Regions from separate parts of the Homo sapiens genome. Here all the other regions are linked to region 3. The links are contacts of gene promoters, found by promoter capture Hi-C in blood cells and fetal thymus (Javierre and others, 2016). All regions are on one chromosome and are shown on one strand. Each heading gives the region's core, a stretch centred on a gene start or on the middle of the fragment in contact. The rest is flanking DNA. Distances are from core to core; before and after follow the strand shown.

Evidence for each region. Contacts are between HindIII fragments. The CHiCAGO score rates a contact against its expected background, and 5 or more counts as called.
Region 1: the fragment with the promoter of PRDM10 here is called in contact with the fragment with the promoter of DYNC2H1 in region 3 in 1 of 17 cell types (naive CD8 T cells); the score reaches 8.3 in naive CD8 T cells.
Region 2: a contact is called between the fragment with the promoter of PRMT3 here and the fragment with the promoter of DYNC2H1 in region 3, in 3 of 17 cell types (total B cells, total CD4 T cells and non-activated CD4 T cells). The highest score is 7.4, in total B cells.

What each region holds. Positions count from the first base shown.
Region 1 is chr11:130,000,515-130,005,494 of GRCh38, reverse strand. It overlaps PRDM10 (PR/SET domain 10), which reads left to right and starts at 2,660. Exons shown (of 21, transcript NM_199437.2): 1 at 2,660-2,773. PRDM10-DT (PRDM10 divergent transcript) reads right to left here and starts at 2,871. Exons shown (of 1, transcript NR_024233.1): 1 at 9-2,871. RefSeq lists silencers at 1,937-2,326, 3,037-3,356, 3,367-3,416, 3,447-3,626 and an enhancer at 2,437-2,526. The HindIII fragment of the contact is 10,759 bases long and covers 2,275-4,980 here.
Region 2 is chr11:20,384,933-20,390,020 of GRCh38, reverse strand. PRMT3 (protein arginine methyltransferase 3) reads right to left here and starts at 2,305. Exons shown (of 16, transcript NM_005788.4): 1 at 2,247-2,305; 2 at 1,867-2,002; 3 at 195-277. The coding sequence starts at 2,274. RefSeq lists enhancers at 1,435-1,484, 1,340-1,946, 1,947-2,554, 2,428-2,597, 4,477-4,978 and silencers at 2,035-2,594, 4,911-5,088. The HindIII fragment of the contact is 3,061 bases long and covers 1,659-4,719 here.
Region 3 is chr11:103,106,917-103,111,513 of GRCh38, reverse strand. DYNC2H1 (dynein cytoplasmic 2 heavy chain 1) reads right to left here and starts at 2,088. Exons shown (of 89, transcript NM_001377.3): 1 at 1,745-2,088. The coding sequence starts at 1,939. RefSeq lists enhancers at 2,256-2,305, 2,376-2,495. The HindIII fragment of the contact is 957 bases long and covers 1,557-2,513 here.

The DNA of each region.
Region 1 (4,980 bases), core at 1,411-3,910, about 27 Mb before region 3:
CCTTTTTTGGTTGCTGTTGTTCCCTATTCTATCTTTATTGTTTAGAAAAATGAATGGCACACAGTACATATTCAATAAATACTTCTTGTATACCCCAGTGAGTGAATTTTACAGTGTAAACTTTAAAAATCATTTAAAAATCCACATAAAAAGCAAATTCCTGAGGTTCACTCCAGACCCTCTGAATAAAAACTCTGTGGGGAGGAATCTCCCTGCACATATTTATGTACTTAGAAGTTTTAGAACATTTCTCTAAAGCCATGAGAGTAACTCAGGCTCTTCAGTTTGAATAGCCCCATTCCCCATGGTGCGTTCTCTTTTGGGTTCTGTGGTGTTGTTTCTGGTCAGTGGACCTCAGTTGGGACCATCTCAGTTCATCAGCAAGGATGTAATGATGTTAAATCTAAAAGTGAGCCGTTCTTACTGAGGCCAGGGGTATGTGGAGTGGCAGCTTTTGCAAGGACACAGAAGGACCTGTCCAACCTGCGGCATTGTTCATCTACTCGTAACACTAAAAGGGAGCATTCAAGGGACTCTCTTAGCCAATATGATCTTTCCTTAGGCAACTGATTTCCATGTCTGTGTTGCCAGAGTAGGGCTACTAGTGTCTCTCACTAGCTATGTTAAGGTCGGCCTCATCTAAGTCCAGTGCCACCTGTACAGTGGTTTAAGGAAGAACAAGACACGGCCTAGATGTGAAGTTGTTTACAAAGCAGTTAACTGTCTGAAGTTTCTTCTTGTTGTTGTTTTGTTTTTTTAAAGACAGAGACTTGCTCTATCACCCAGGTTGTAGTGCAGTGGCACGATCACAGCTCACTGCAGCCTTGACTTCCTGGGCTCAAGTAACCCTCCTGCACAGCCTGCCGGTAACTGGAACCACAGATGTGTACTGCCATGCCTGGCTAATCTTTTTGTTTTTTGTACAGAGTCTCACTATGTTGCCCAGGCTGGTCTCGAACGCCTGTGCTCAAGCGATCCACCCGCCTCGGCCTCCCAAAATTCTGGGATTACAGGCGTGAGCCACCGCACCCTGTCACGAAGTTTAAAAAAAAAAAAAAGCTCTCTTTTCTTTCCACGTTGTTTCCAGCTATTTAAAGAAACAAAATGGTAGACTAGACGCAGTGGCTCACATCTGTAATCCCAGCAATTTGGAAGGCCAAGGCGGGAGAATCACTTGACGTTAGAGTTTGAGACCAGCCTGGCCAACATGGGGAAACCCCATCTCTACTGAAAATACAAAAATTAGCCGGGCGTGGTGGTGCATGCCTGTAATCTCAGCTACTAGAGAGGCTGAGGCAGGAGAATCGCTTGAACCCGGGAGGCAGAGGTTGCAATGAGCCCAGATCTCACCACTGCACTCCAGCCTGGGCAACAGAGCGAGACTCCGTATCAAAAAACAAAACAACAAAACAAAACAAAAAACAGTAAAGAGAATACTATTGAGTTAATTTTACAGTTTTTCACGCTGTGGGTGTTTTCTATTCTCGTCTTTTGCTTAGCTGTCCTGTCTCCCTCTTTTTCTCAGGCAATAGTTTAGGATTTTTGTAAGTTATATTGTCAGTACTTCTCATTTAAGTTCCAGACAGTGTGCTAAGCAAAGCACTTTACTCGGTAAAGTAAGAGCTCACTTAATCTTCAAAATAACGTAGCAAGGTAGATATCACGAACATAGCAAGGTAGATATCACCGAAGGGAAAACCGCTCCCCGAAGGTCCGAAGGTCCAAGGTCTCTCTGCCATCTAGCTGCCCTGCGTATTGCCTGCCAGTGGGTAGTTGGAGCTGGGTATCTCTCCAAAGCTGGGCTCTTGGCTGCCCTTTGTGAAGGCAATTTTAAGGGACAGCAGGATGTGGAAGCCTGCGGTTAAGGAGTGAGCTGAGTCACTGGGTAACCAGTGTTGAATAATGTTTCTCAATGTCTGAAATGACACTCACTTCCTTTCCAGATTGGTAGAGGAGAAAAAAGAGGCGCAGTGAAAGCGCTCTCAAGGTGCGGTGGGTCAGGGTGATAGGCGGCGCCCGGCCGCTCCCTGGGGGTCCTGAGGGCGAGACCCCGGCAGGCTCCCGACTCCGGGAGCCGGGCGGGAGTTCGGTTTTCGCCGGCGCTCCACGGCCAGGCCACTTCGGAGGCAATCTGTGGCGGGGCGGGCGGACGCGAGGGCCGCCTCACCCCCGCGCGTCTTCCGGGACACCGGGCCCTCGGGCGCGCGGGAGGCGGGCTTAGCACGGGCGCAGGCTGCCCTCGGCGCCCGAGACACCCAGGCACAGCTGGAAGCTTCCTCCCCGTTAGCACGCGGGCCGCAGCGGGGGCTTGACCCCAATGCGAAGAGTCGGGTTTTCTGATTGGCTGAGAGTAGAAACGCAGGCGAGCGCCGCCTGAGACCCGCTCTGCGATTGGGTTTTACACGAACAGCAGAGCACGAAATAAAGAGGCCTTCAGTCATTGGGCCATTATGTGAATCTCCTTTTGGCTTCTCTGCAGACTGAATAAGCGTCTCAGGATCTTCGTCATGACTCCTAAATCTGGGCCTGTCAGTTCGCCCCAGCGTTTCTCGTCTCTAGGCACGGCATGGGGCTTACAGAGTTTAACCAATCATATAACGTCGAGATCAGGTTGCCAGGCAGATTATGCTAATAAGACCCCGCCTTTTATGCTGCTCCCACTCTGCGGCGGGAAGAACCACCTGGAGGTGGCGGGGGGGGTTGATTTCTATCACCCCTAGGGAGAGAGGATCGGGGACCCGCTGATCTTCCAGCTCCCCTCACCCAACGTCGTGTAAGTACCTAAAGGATTAAGGGAACCAGATAAGCCAGGGTCCAGACTACCCCATAGACTGGGAGGGTGTTTCGTCTTTGCTTAGTCCCACCCAAAATGGCGCCCAGCTCTTTCCGCGTCTCAGAGCCCGGCCGGGGCCAACCGACCGCGGACCCGGGTGGGGGGGGAATTGATGGTGGTGGTGGGGGGGAGAAATCCCGGCGGCACCGCCCGATGGTACAGTCCAGCCGGGGCTGGGACGAGGCACCTCACTCGGGGTGGGGGGTCAAACCATCTGCACCTTCCAAGGGGAAGAGGGCAAGGCCCCCTCCAGCAGGCCCTCCTGGCGCCGCGTTCAGCGCCGGCCTCGGCGTCTCGTCGCCCCTGCCTTCGCCGCGCGCAGCCTCCCCCTGCGACCCCCGAGTGGCTCGCACGCTCCGCCGGCCGCGCGCACCTCTCCTCCCCTGCCCGCGTTGGTTGGGCCGGGACGGCGGTTGGGCGGCCTGCGCGCTCCGGCGGCGGCGGTTGCGCGGGCGCTCCGGGCGCGGCGGGCAGGTCTCCGCCGGCCGGGAGCCGAGCACCGGGGGCTGGGGGCCGGGCGCCGGGCTGGGGGTGGCAGTGCGGGCAGGGCTCCGGGGCTGGCCGGTTGCGGGCGCGTGGGGCGGAGGGTCCTGTTCGATGGGGCGCCCAGCTTTGTCTGCGGAGGCCGCGCCGCCCACTTGCCATCGATGGCTGGGCCCCCGGCCTGCCTTCCCAAGCTAGCGTCCGGGACCGGGGCGGGGGGCCGGCCCGCAGGGGTGTGGGGTGGCCCCTGCGGGTCTGTCCCGTGGCACCGCGTCGGGGCTGGCCGGGCGGAGGCGGAGGCCGAGGCCGGGGTCGCGGCCCTGCCCCAGTCCGCCTGCACCCAGGGTGCAGCGCAGAGGCAGGGCGAGGCCGGTCGGCGCTCGGGAGAGGGCTGATGGTGTGCACCTCTCCAGCCCCTCGCCAGCTTTTGTTAAGCAGGTTTAACCCTGCAGCTAGGTGTTGATACTCTACTAAGTAAAATGGAATATTCCCCGTCTGCCCTCCAGCCACGCGAACGCAGCGCTGTTGAATTTGTGTGCGCGCCTTTAGCCTTGCTTGGTGGATGAGTTGGATTTTAGTGCATTTTCAATCAATGTGCGTGTACACTTAAGCACAAGGAGAGGTGGCTTTGTGCTGTCATCGAGGATTAGATGTGTGATGAGACCCACCCAGCTCTGCCCTGTGCCCTAATTCTGCTGCTTTGCCTGTTGAAACCTTGCCTGTCTCGTCACCCCAAATTCTCTAAACTTAGCAGTACTTAACCTTTATTAAAAACAGCAGAATCACTCATGACTGTTTTGTGGCCTCTTTTTCTGACCTGTTCTCTTTGTTTCTATCACTCCTCCATCGCTGTAAGGCAAGAAGGTGTATTATTACATTGTATTTTTTTTGTATCTTCCTACCATTCCAGCATCACAATAGCTTCCACTTTGATGAGCAGTACTTATTTGTTGTTCTAGAATAGAGAAAACAAGATTTTTTTTTAAAATTAGGATTGGTTGGGGGCAAAGCAGCGTTTAAACAGTGTTTATTCAATATGGGGTATTTAGAAAGGAACTTTGCTAGGTTTATTTAGGAGACAGGGTCTCTGGTTGCCCAGGCTAGAGTGCAGTGGCGCGATCTTGGCTCACTGCCGACTCGACCTCCCGGGCTCAAGGGATCCTCCTGCTTCAGCCTCCCTAGTAGCTGGGACTACAGGCGTGCACCACCACGCCTGGCTAATTTTTCTACTTTTTGTAGAAACGGGGTTTCATCATTTTGCCCAGGATGGTTACGAACTGCTGAGCTCAAGCAATCCTACCGCCGCAGCATCCCTAAGTGCTGGGATTGCAGGCATGGGCCCCCGCGCTCGGCCTTTAGGTTTACTTTTACAATAAATTGAGGTGAAGTTGACACAGAATGAACCATTTTAAAGTGAACAGGGACGTTTAGTGAAAGGATTACATTTTTGTTTGTTTTGGATCAAGACAAATGTCTTGTGCCTTCTACCCCGTAAGCTCCCACTCTGCTATGCTGTTCCTCGTTTTGCAAGGCAAAATTGTTTTGCTTTTTCAAAGAATTCATTTTTAGTTTTTCTAATATTTTGTAGCATGCTCCACCACATATTAATCATATATTGTATGTCAATGTAATTGAGTATATATTTTAGAAAAAGCAAGGTTCCT
Region 2 (5,088 bases), core at 1,056-3,555, about 83 Mb after region 3:
CGTCACCACACCCAGATAACTTTTGTATTTTAGTACAGGTGGGGTTTCAGCATGTTGGCCAGGCTGGTCTTGAACTCCCGACCTAAAGTGATCCACCCACCTCAGCCTCCCAAAGTGCTGGGATTACAGGTGTGAGCTGCCATGCCTGCCCAAATTTCACAAATTAAATTGCCTTTATTCTAAAAACTACTCACCATGTTTATGAACCATGCTGTCAATATTAAACTGATGCTCAGACTTACAGTGTGAAAATGTTTCTTCAGCAGATGTGAATAACCTGAAAAATCAAGCAATAGCTTCATGGAATAGTCCCCTAAGAAGTCTAAATACTGATTTCATGTTACATATACACTTTTTTTTTTTTTTTAACTCTGCTGGTTTCTAGTTTTACTTCCAATTAAGAAAAAACAAACACACTTGTATCTGAAAGGAAGGGAATCCAGCACTTTTAAAGGGAATTAGTACTTCTGAGTCCCATTTTATACCTAAAACCAATTATCCTTTAAATGTCAAAGTGAATTTATTTGTCAAATAATATCACTGATTTTATCAAAAGGCTTTTAAGAGAGTTCCCTTTGATAGAGTCTGTTTCTCTCAAGTCATACAATTTCTCTACTTGAGATTCTTTTCTCCTCTAAGTGTCAACTCTGCTTTCAGAGGCTTTGAACTGGCACAGCTCAAACTGCTTTTAGAAATAAAGCATAAAATGTAATTTTACAGCTGGCATACTCCCCAAGTGCCTTATTTCAAAAGTGATCTTGTAGTATTCCCAACGTACTTGCATCACAGACACTGTGAGGATCAATCCTCTTTATTATGTGACATGCAAATCTGAAGGCTACTTAAAGACAGGAATACACAGCAGAGAAGCTGTATACCTTATCTATATTCCTAACACATGTGGAGCATTAGTTTTCCACAAATGTTTACCGAGATAGGTTATGTCGACTATTTATGGAGGCTATCACAGCCACGGTACCACTGGTGCTCAATAAATATTTTATGACAACTAGAATATATACAGGCATTCTATCTACCCAATGGGGCTACAGATGAGAACACTAACGCACCACCACTCAGCACCATGCCCAGATACAGGGAACACTGGAAAATGTATTAAAGTAACACCGGCCAATGCCAACCGGGCCTCTTTCATGCCTACTTGCCTAGGACAGGAGCCAAAGCTTCCCAAGACTAACAGGCAGAATTTTAAGTGGCAAGAATGTGAGTTTGGAAATAAGCACACCACAGCTTTGTGACCTTGAGCAAATTATTGATACTACAGTCTTTTTCCTTAAGTGAAAAGTCCTACTTAAGTAAGGTGAACTTCCTTCTTAGACTATGGAAACCGCTCAAATAAAAAAGAAATGTTTCACCTGAGAAGCTCTGTACTGGTCAAAGAATTAGCATGGTAAAGCCGGAAGGCTCCGTAGGGATTATCTAGTTCAGGGTGGCTGCCAAATATGTTACTCGTTAGTAGTAACTCGTTAGTAACTTCACTGTTACTTCCGATCTTGTCCTCATAAAAACAGAATATTCTTAGACCCCATCCCTGACTTGGAAGGATTCAGGTGCAGAGTTCAGTATCATTTTGTTTTCAGCGTCTCAAGTGACAAGATTTGGGAACCACAGATTCAATGCACTACCAGTCAAAAGCTTGCAGTACAACCGGCCTTCCAGTTCACGGTTCCCCCTCTCTACTACCGAGGGTCCTCCTTCTCCACAAGCCCTCACCCCAGACCAGTGGTTCCAGAATTCAAAGACAGGCCACTCTGGCTTGCCTCCCGCCCGAAGGCGTTCCTGGGCACACAGACCCCACGCGCCCGGGCACCCTAGGGCAGAGGCCAGGCGCTGAGGCGGACGAACCTGTTACAGAACAGGCAGGGGGTCTGCTGCTTGCCGTGGGGGAGATCTGCATCGTCCTCATCCTCCCAGGCGGCCTCGTCCCCGCTGTCCGACAGTTCTGGCAGGTCCTCCTCATTCTCCACAGCGCCCCGGCCGCCTAACACACACACACAACAATCAGATCGGCCTCGGACACCGGTGCGGCCCGGGGGCTCGAGGAGCAGGTGACGATGGGCTCTCCTCCGCCCCGTTCGCCCGCGGCCCTCACTCAGCACCTCCTTCATGATCCCTGCGAGCCCCCCACCCTGCCCGGGCCCGTGTCCCGGAGGGTCTTCCACCGGCCCCACAGCGGCGCGGCCTGGGGCTGGACGAGCCGGGTGCTGAGGGGCCAGGGTACCCACCGGTAGCGCCTGACGCTAACGAGCACATGGCTGTGGTGCCCCGAGAGCCCGGCGTGTCTGGGGGCGGGGACCGGGTTGGGCAACGAGCGCGCGCAGCGGCCGCCGACTCCAGGAACGAGCGCGAGCACAAGCGCGAACCCGCGGCGGGACCCGGGCTCCGGAAACTTCGCAGACCGCCGGGAACGCCGAAGCGCGCGCGCTGGCTCGCAATCGCTTCCGGCCTCGAGGCGCCGTGCGGGTCACGTGAGGTGGGGGCGGGGCGAGAGCGGGGGCTCCGCCTCCTCCTGCCGCAGGGTTGGCGCAGTGCGCGCTGAAGAGGCGCGCTGATGACGGTTAATGTTGCAGCCCGGAAGATGACTTTTGTCTCCTCCTTGGGTTGCGGCAGGCGTTAGTGGGAGGTCGCGGCCCGCTGCTGTGAGCCCCAAGGCAGAGAGACGTCGCTGCGGTTTTGGGGTTGGCATCCTGTCCTCTGTGCGCCCCTTTTTCCTGGGATGAGCGGTTAGCGGAGGGGCGATCGGCCCATGACGCCCTCTGGTGGCGGAGGAGGCCAAACGCTGGAGGCTCGGCTGGTTTCTGGGCTCCCAGGTCCTGGAGGGGGTGCAGCTGGCGAGAGGGAACGAACTGCATGGGCCAGGGTGGGTCTACTGCAGGGACAGATAGGTGTCAAACCCCCCAAGACGGATTTTAATCTTTGGTTAAGTGAGAACGTGAACTCTAGAGGCAGCCTGCTGGGTTTGAATCCTACCCACGTCACTTTGTAACTGTGATCTTGGGCAAGTTACTCGACCTCTCTCTGCCTCAGTTTCATCAAATACAAAACAAGGATAATAACTGCACTTGGGCAGGGCACGGTGGCTCACGTCTATAGTACCAGCACTTTGGGAGGCTGAGGCGGGCGGATCACCTGAGGTCAGGAGTTGGAGACCAGCCTGGCCAACATGGTGAAACCCTGTCCCTACTAAAAATACAAAAATTAACCAGGTGTGGTGGCACGCGCCTGCAATCCCAGCTACTTGGGAGGCTGAGGCAGGAGAATTGCTTGAGCCCGGGAGGCGGAGCTTGTGGTGAGCCGAGATTGTGCCACCGTACTCCAGCCTGGGCAACAGAGCAAGACTCCATCTTAAAAAAAAAAAAACAAAAAACAAAAAACCTGGACTAACTTCAGAACTACAGTAAGGATAAAACGAGTTAATACATGTAAAGTGCTCAGACATAACTATTTAAGCCAGGGAGTGATGCTCTCAGATGTGTTGAGAAAGTAACAATCTGGCTGCTGTGTGGGGAAGAACACAAATGTTCCCCTGCCTGCCTCATGCCACGTCCCTTTCTTCCTTTCCTTATATCTCTTCAAACCATAGAACTTTTTTTTGTTTGATTTTTGAGACGGAGTTTCGCTCTTGTTGCCCAGGCTGGAGTGCAATGGCACGATCTCAGGCTCACCGCAACCTCCACCTTCCGGGTTCAAGCGATTCTCTTGCCTCAGCCTCCCGAGTAGTTGGGATTACAGGCATGCGCCACCACGTCCGGCTGATTTTGGATTTTTAGTAGAGACAGGGTTTCTCCATGTTGGTCAGGCTGGTCTGGAACTCCCGACCTCAGGTGATCCACCTGCCCGCGAGCCACCGCCCGGCCCAGAATTCTTGCTTAGGAGGGAGTGCCCCAGGCTCTAGCAGAGTTTATCTAATTGGCCTATCAGGCCCTGCATAATCCTGCCTCTTTCCAATGGAACCCTTCACCTTGGGTCCCACCCTTAAGCCTTTTATTTACTGCTAATCATTGAATGTTCTACACATGGGTAGGTCCCTTTGGTCTCAACCAGAAACACTTTCCTCAGGCCATTTCTAAAATAGTTTCCACCATTATTTCAGGAGTATCCTGTTAGTTTCTTAGCACCCACCATTTGCTTACTTGATTTTTTTTTCTTTTTTGGTGATACCCCACAGCACTGAACAATAAGGGTAAGTAAGGGCCATGTCTCTTTACTTTCATTTCTCTGGCACATAATATGTGGCCTGGCCCATAGTATTAATAGATACTGAATGTATTCACTGAATAAAAATGATGCCTTATATTATTGCTAAATGTACTTCTAAATGTACTTTTCTCCCTTAATTGTAAATTCCTAGAGGACAGAATCCATTAAATATTAGTTTTTGTTTTTGTTTTTCTTTGAGACAGAGTCTCGCTCGGTTGCCCAGGCTGGAGTGCAGTGGTGCGATCTTGTCCCACTGCAACCTCCACCTCCCAGGTTCAAGCGATTCTCCTGCCTCAGCCTCCCAAGTAGCTGGGATTATAGGTGCTCACCACCATGCCTGGCTAATTTTTATATTTTTAGTAGTGACAGGGTTTCACCATGTTGGTCAGACTGGTCTTGAACTCCTGACCTCAAGTGATCTGCCCACCTCGGCTTCCCAAAGTCCTGAGATTACAGGCGTGATTGACCGCACCCGGCCCAAATATTAATTTTGAAGCTTTCTTACATCCTAGGACATTGCCAGAATAGCTGCTGGCTCTCTTGAGTTGGAGTCATCGTTCATGGATGCATCCCCAGTGCCTGTGTGCTCAGTGGCACATGAAAGGCACTGAATAAGCATTTGCTGAATGAATTAATGAACACTTGATTACCTGGGCCCATCCAACTTTTCCCTTCATCCTTCCAACATAAACTTTTTCTGTCTGTGTAACATTTGGTGGAAAACTTCCTGAATCCCTTAGTACTAAATGGAACACCCAGTCCATTCAGTGTTGACAATAAAACAAGTTAACACCCATTGTGGAGGAGTGATTGGGCCAGAGTCTTGTTCCTTAGTAAGTTCATATCTCACCACAATGCAGAGCTCAA
Region 3 (4,597 bases), core at 839-3,338:
GGCAGAAAGCAGGGGGCTCTATCCTGAACTACGCTACCTATTGGAGAAAAAGAAAAGTTAACATTTAGGTTGTAAATTTTGTCCCTTACTTTCCTCAGCCATAAAATAAGAAAAAGAATAGTTCCTATCTTACAATGTCGTTATGGCTATTAAATGAACGAATACATATAAAGTACTTAGAACAGTGCTTGACAGAGTCTAAAGTGAAAATAAATGTTAGCTATGATTATCCATCCTTTTTATATCTTTGTAAACCCATCATGCCTGGCAAAGTGCCTTGCATGTACTGAGTTCAAAGTAAATGTTTATTAAATACAATCGAATTAAACCTAAGAATAAAGATAGTGAATAGGGTGAATGATTCAATCATCCTATAAAAATGCACTGAAGCCAGGCACGGTGGCACACACCTGTAATCCCAGCACTTTGGGAGGCCAAGGCGGGTGGATCACCTGAGGTCAGGAGTTCGAGACCAGCCTGACCAACATGGTGAAACCCCATTTCTACTAATTGCAAAAAATTAGCTGGGTGTGGTGGCACATGCCCTGTAATCCCAGCTACTTGGGAGGCTGTGGCAGGAGAATCGCTTGAACCCGGGAGGCAGAGGTTGCAGTGAGCCAAGATTGTGCCATTGCACTCCAGCCTGGGTAATACGAGCGAAACTGCGAACTGCGTCTAAAAAAAAAAAAAAAGGCACTGAATGTTTTTGCTGAGTGTCAAAAACTCTGCTAGACCTAGGGATAAGGGTGAACACCAAAGGAAGAGGTTTAAAATATGTCTTTGTTTTATTAACTTAAATCTATTTACTGAGTCCCCTTTAATGTGTCAGGCAATTTTCTTCTGTGTTTTTCTTTTAGGCTTATATATATAAGCCCTGATTGCAAATGCAACCCATTTTTTAAGCAATCCTGCCAGTGGAGGGAGCAGTGCAATTAATAAATCAGTATATCACATGATGTACACCAAAAAAGAATTCAAACTTTATTTTGAAATATATCATTTCACAAAAATTTAAATTCCTAACTAATCTTTCCCTTGGGCAATGTTAAAATCAGAGCCTGATCCAAAAAAGATAGACTAGAATTTGCCTTCCCCCCAAAAAAAAAACTCAAAAAGGGGAGAGAAAAAAATAAAAATAACTAAGTAAATGTTTTCTTTTTAGTTATAACGTATCTGCAGTCTTTCTTAAAAAGTAGAATATAGGCCGGGCGCGGTGGCTCATGCTTGCAATCCCAGCACTTTGGGAGGCCGGATCACTTGAGGTCAGGAGATGGAGACCCACATGGCCAACGTGGTGAAACCCCCGTCTCTACTGAAAATACAAAAATTAGCCAGGCGTGGCGGCGCGCGCCTGCTACTCGGGAGGCTGAGGCACGAGAATCGCTTGAACTCAGGAGGTGGAGGACGCAGTGAGCAGAGATCGCGCCACTACACTCCATCCAGCCTAAGCGACAGAACGAAACTCCGTATAAAAATTTAAAATAAAACACAATCTAATTGCTTCTATTCAGATGTATGGAAGGGAAACATGCTTCGGTCAGGTAGGATGCAAAGCTTGGAAACTACCTGCTTAAGCACGAGGCCAACGCATCTAAGCCAATAATGCAGGAGAAGTGGAGACAGCCTTGGGTTCCTGAAAAGGATCTGGTTGGTAAAGCTAAAGAGTGTGACCCGACGTCCCTCTGGCTGGGCCTGGGGACTTGAAGAGTGGTCAGGGGTCAGGCAGGAGTGCAAGGAACCGTACCGTGTTGGAAAAGGAGATTCCTGCGTCGGATCGCTGCACCCTGAGGAGCATCTGGTTGCCGTCATCCAAGAAGTTGTTGATTTCAAGACAGTTGCACAACAGTGGCTGATCCCAGAGTTCAGACATCAACCCGAAGTAATTCTGGGTAGTAGTGAAGATGAAGAGCTTCCGAACGTCCGCAGTCCCGTTCGCCATGATTGGAAGGGGTGGAGGGAAGTTGGGGGAAGGGGGAAGGAAGAAGAAACCAGTCCGGAGGGAAGTGAAGGGAAGAGAGGAGCTTTGCTCAAACCCGTAGCCCGACCGCGGGACCGCAGAGCTTCGCGGTTGCCAGGGGTAGTCGCTATGGCGACGGAGCACTACGGCGGCGTCGCTGGCGGCGCGCGGTGGGCGTTGCCCTCTCGGGGCACGCGCACGCAAAGCTCGCGGAGGCTATCGACCGCCTCGGAGCTCTTCAGCGGCTCCCTGCGGTCATCGATTGTAAGGGGTTCGGACAAGTTTATGTTGGCTCTCAAACATGTCTTTTATTCTTCTTACTGATTTCTTATCACGCATAATCAGAAGAGAGACATCTAGCCTTCAAGTACAGCAGCGTGATCTAGATTTAGGAGAGCTGGGTTCCAGTGCTCGCTCTCCACGTGCACCTGGTAGCAAACCAGTCTGTCAGCGTCAAGGTACACATCTGTTAAGAAGGGGAAATACTATCTCACAACCAGGGGTGTAGTGCGGATTGTAAAAGATTACTATTTAAAAATCGCTTTTTAGAGAAGCTTATAAAGACTAGGAATTCAATACAATGTTAATTTACTTTCTCAGTCGCCCTCTGCTCCTTTCTGTGCTGCTGCATTTCCCAACATCGTTTTTTCTATTATTAATTTTAGAATAATTTAACCAGCAATTTTTTATTGCAATCATTACCCGAGCACAACCATATTTGTAAAATAGCTAAAATGTAAAATGATACTTTTTAGTTTATTTTATAACAACCGCAACCAAATTCTGTGAAAATACAGATATGAAAACGGTCTTTGTCATTTTCTACTTCATGGCATTACTATAAACTACTAAATTGCTGGTCATTCATCCGAACATTCGTCAAACACTTTCTCAATTCAGTAATTCTCTTCTAAAAATATTTACTACATGCTATTAGGTTGGTGCAAACGTAATTGCGGTTTTTTGGCAAGAACTGTAATTACTTTTGCACCAATCTAACACAATTTGCCAAGTACCGAACTAGGCCCTGGGGACACAGTTCCTGCCCTCAGGAAGTTTTTGCTGTAGTCATTCATCACCTCAGCACTGGTTTGACCCAAGATCCTAGGGTACACAAACATATGCAGATTTTTTTTGTTTGCACTTAATAATCATAACCTCCCCTTAAAACTATACTATTTGAGAATTGGAAGGAGAGAGTCCTTTTATTTGCTGAGCAACTTAAGATTTTGGAGTGGGAACTTAAAAAAGCTGAACTGCTCTAAATTATAAAAGGAAATGAATGTAAATTCTCATGAAATATCCAAACAGTGAGAGATGGGAGTCTGGCCACTGGATGGGAAAACATCCAAACAGTGAGGTGGGATGCTGACCACTGGGTGAGGGAAAAAATCCTAACAGGAACCCAAGATGACTGTGTAGCTAATAAAAAGATTTTGAAAGCCAAAGTGACCACTATGGTTACAGAGTTTCCTGCTCTGCAATGAGCATTATCACTCTTACCAAGGTCTTCAGGAAAGTCTCCATTACCCACAAGTGCTCGGTTTGGTGAGTTGTTTTGGTGGAAATGTATGAAATGGCTGAATTGAGCTTCCATAACAATATGGTAAATAAAAAGGCAACACATGTAGGAAGATGAGTCTAGAAAGCAGATGAGATCATGAGTATGTGATCCTCCCAAGAATTTTTAGAACTCTTCAGGAAACTTAGGGCTTCCACAAACTATGAAATTGTGTTTGAATCAAGTTTAACACCGATCTCAAACATGGAAGCTCCCGTTGACATGTAAACCCCATGAAATAGAAGTTTTGTGTTTCCTTTTCACTACTATATACGAAAAATGAGGCACAGAGTGGGAAGAAAAGACAGATACGGACTTTATGTATTGTATCAAGCATACAATAAAGAAGAAAGAACCTCACAGATTAAATAACTTACACAAAAACACAGAGATGGTAAGTGGTAGAACCAAGATTCCTACCAAAATCCAATTCTGAGCCAATCTCTATATACCATATCACAGTGTTAGCCAGATATCCACCAAAATCTATTTTTCCCTTCCATAGCTAAGAAGTGGCTACCATCCAGGTGTGGTCATGTGACTAATTCTCACCAATAAAATGTGAGAAGAAGTAATGTGTGCGTCTTCAAGGCAAAGTTTTAAAGAAGTGAGAATACCTTAACTTTTGCCAGCTGGTTGCAGATAACAATAAAGCAACAGGGATGGCAAAACTTTCCAAGAGTAGGACCCTAGGATCCTGAATCACAGAGTGGAATAATGTCTGCAGTTGTTAAATAAGCAAGAAATAAGCTTTGTTGTGTTTGAGGCATTGTACATTAAACTGTGTGGGCTATTTTTATGGCAATTTAGGCTACTCTAACCAAAAGAGTAATTGATATCCATAGTGTAGTAATGATTTTTTTTTTTAATGTGGAGCATTGTCTTAGCAGTTGTCTGGCAGGTGGCATAAAAACAGGTAACGTGAGCTGAAGGGGAAGGCCCAAAACTTTCTGAGACAGGGTTTCCTAATTTTGTCCTATATGCCATTTCCCAAACTTTTTGGTGACCTTTTTATACTTTATACTTTAAACAATTATTTTTATACTTTAAAAAATTACTGCCAGGCACAGTGGCTCTCG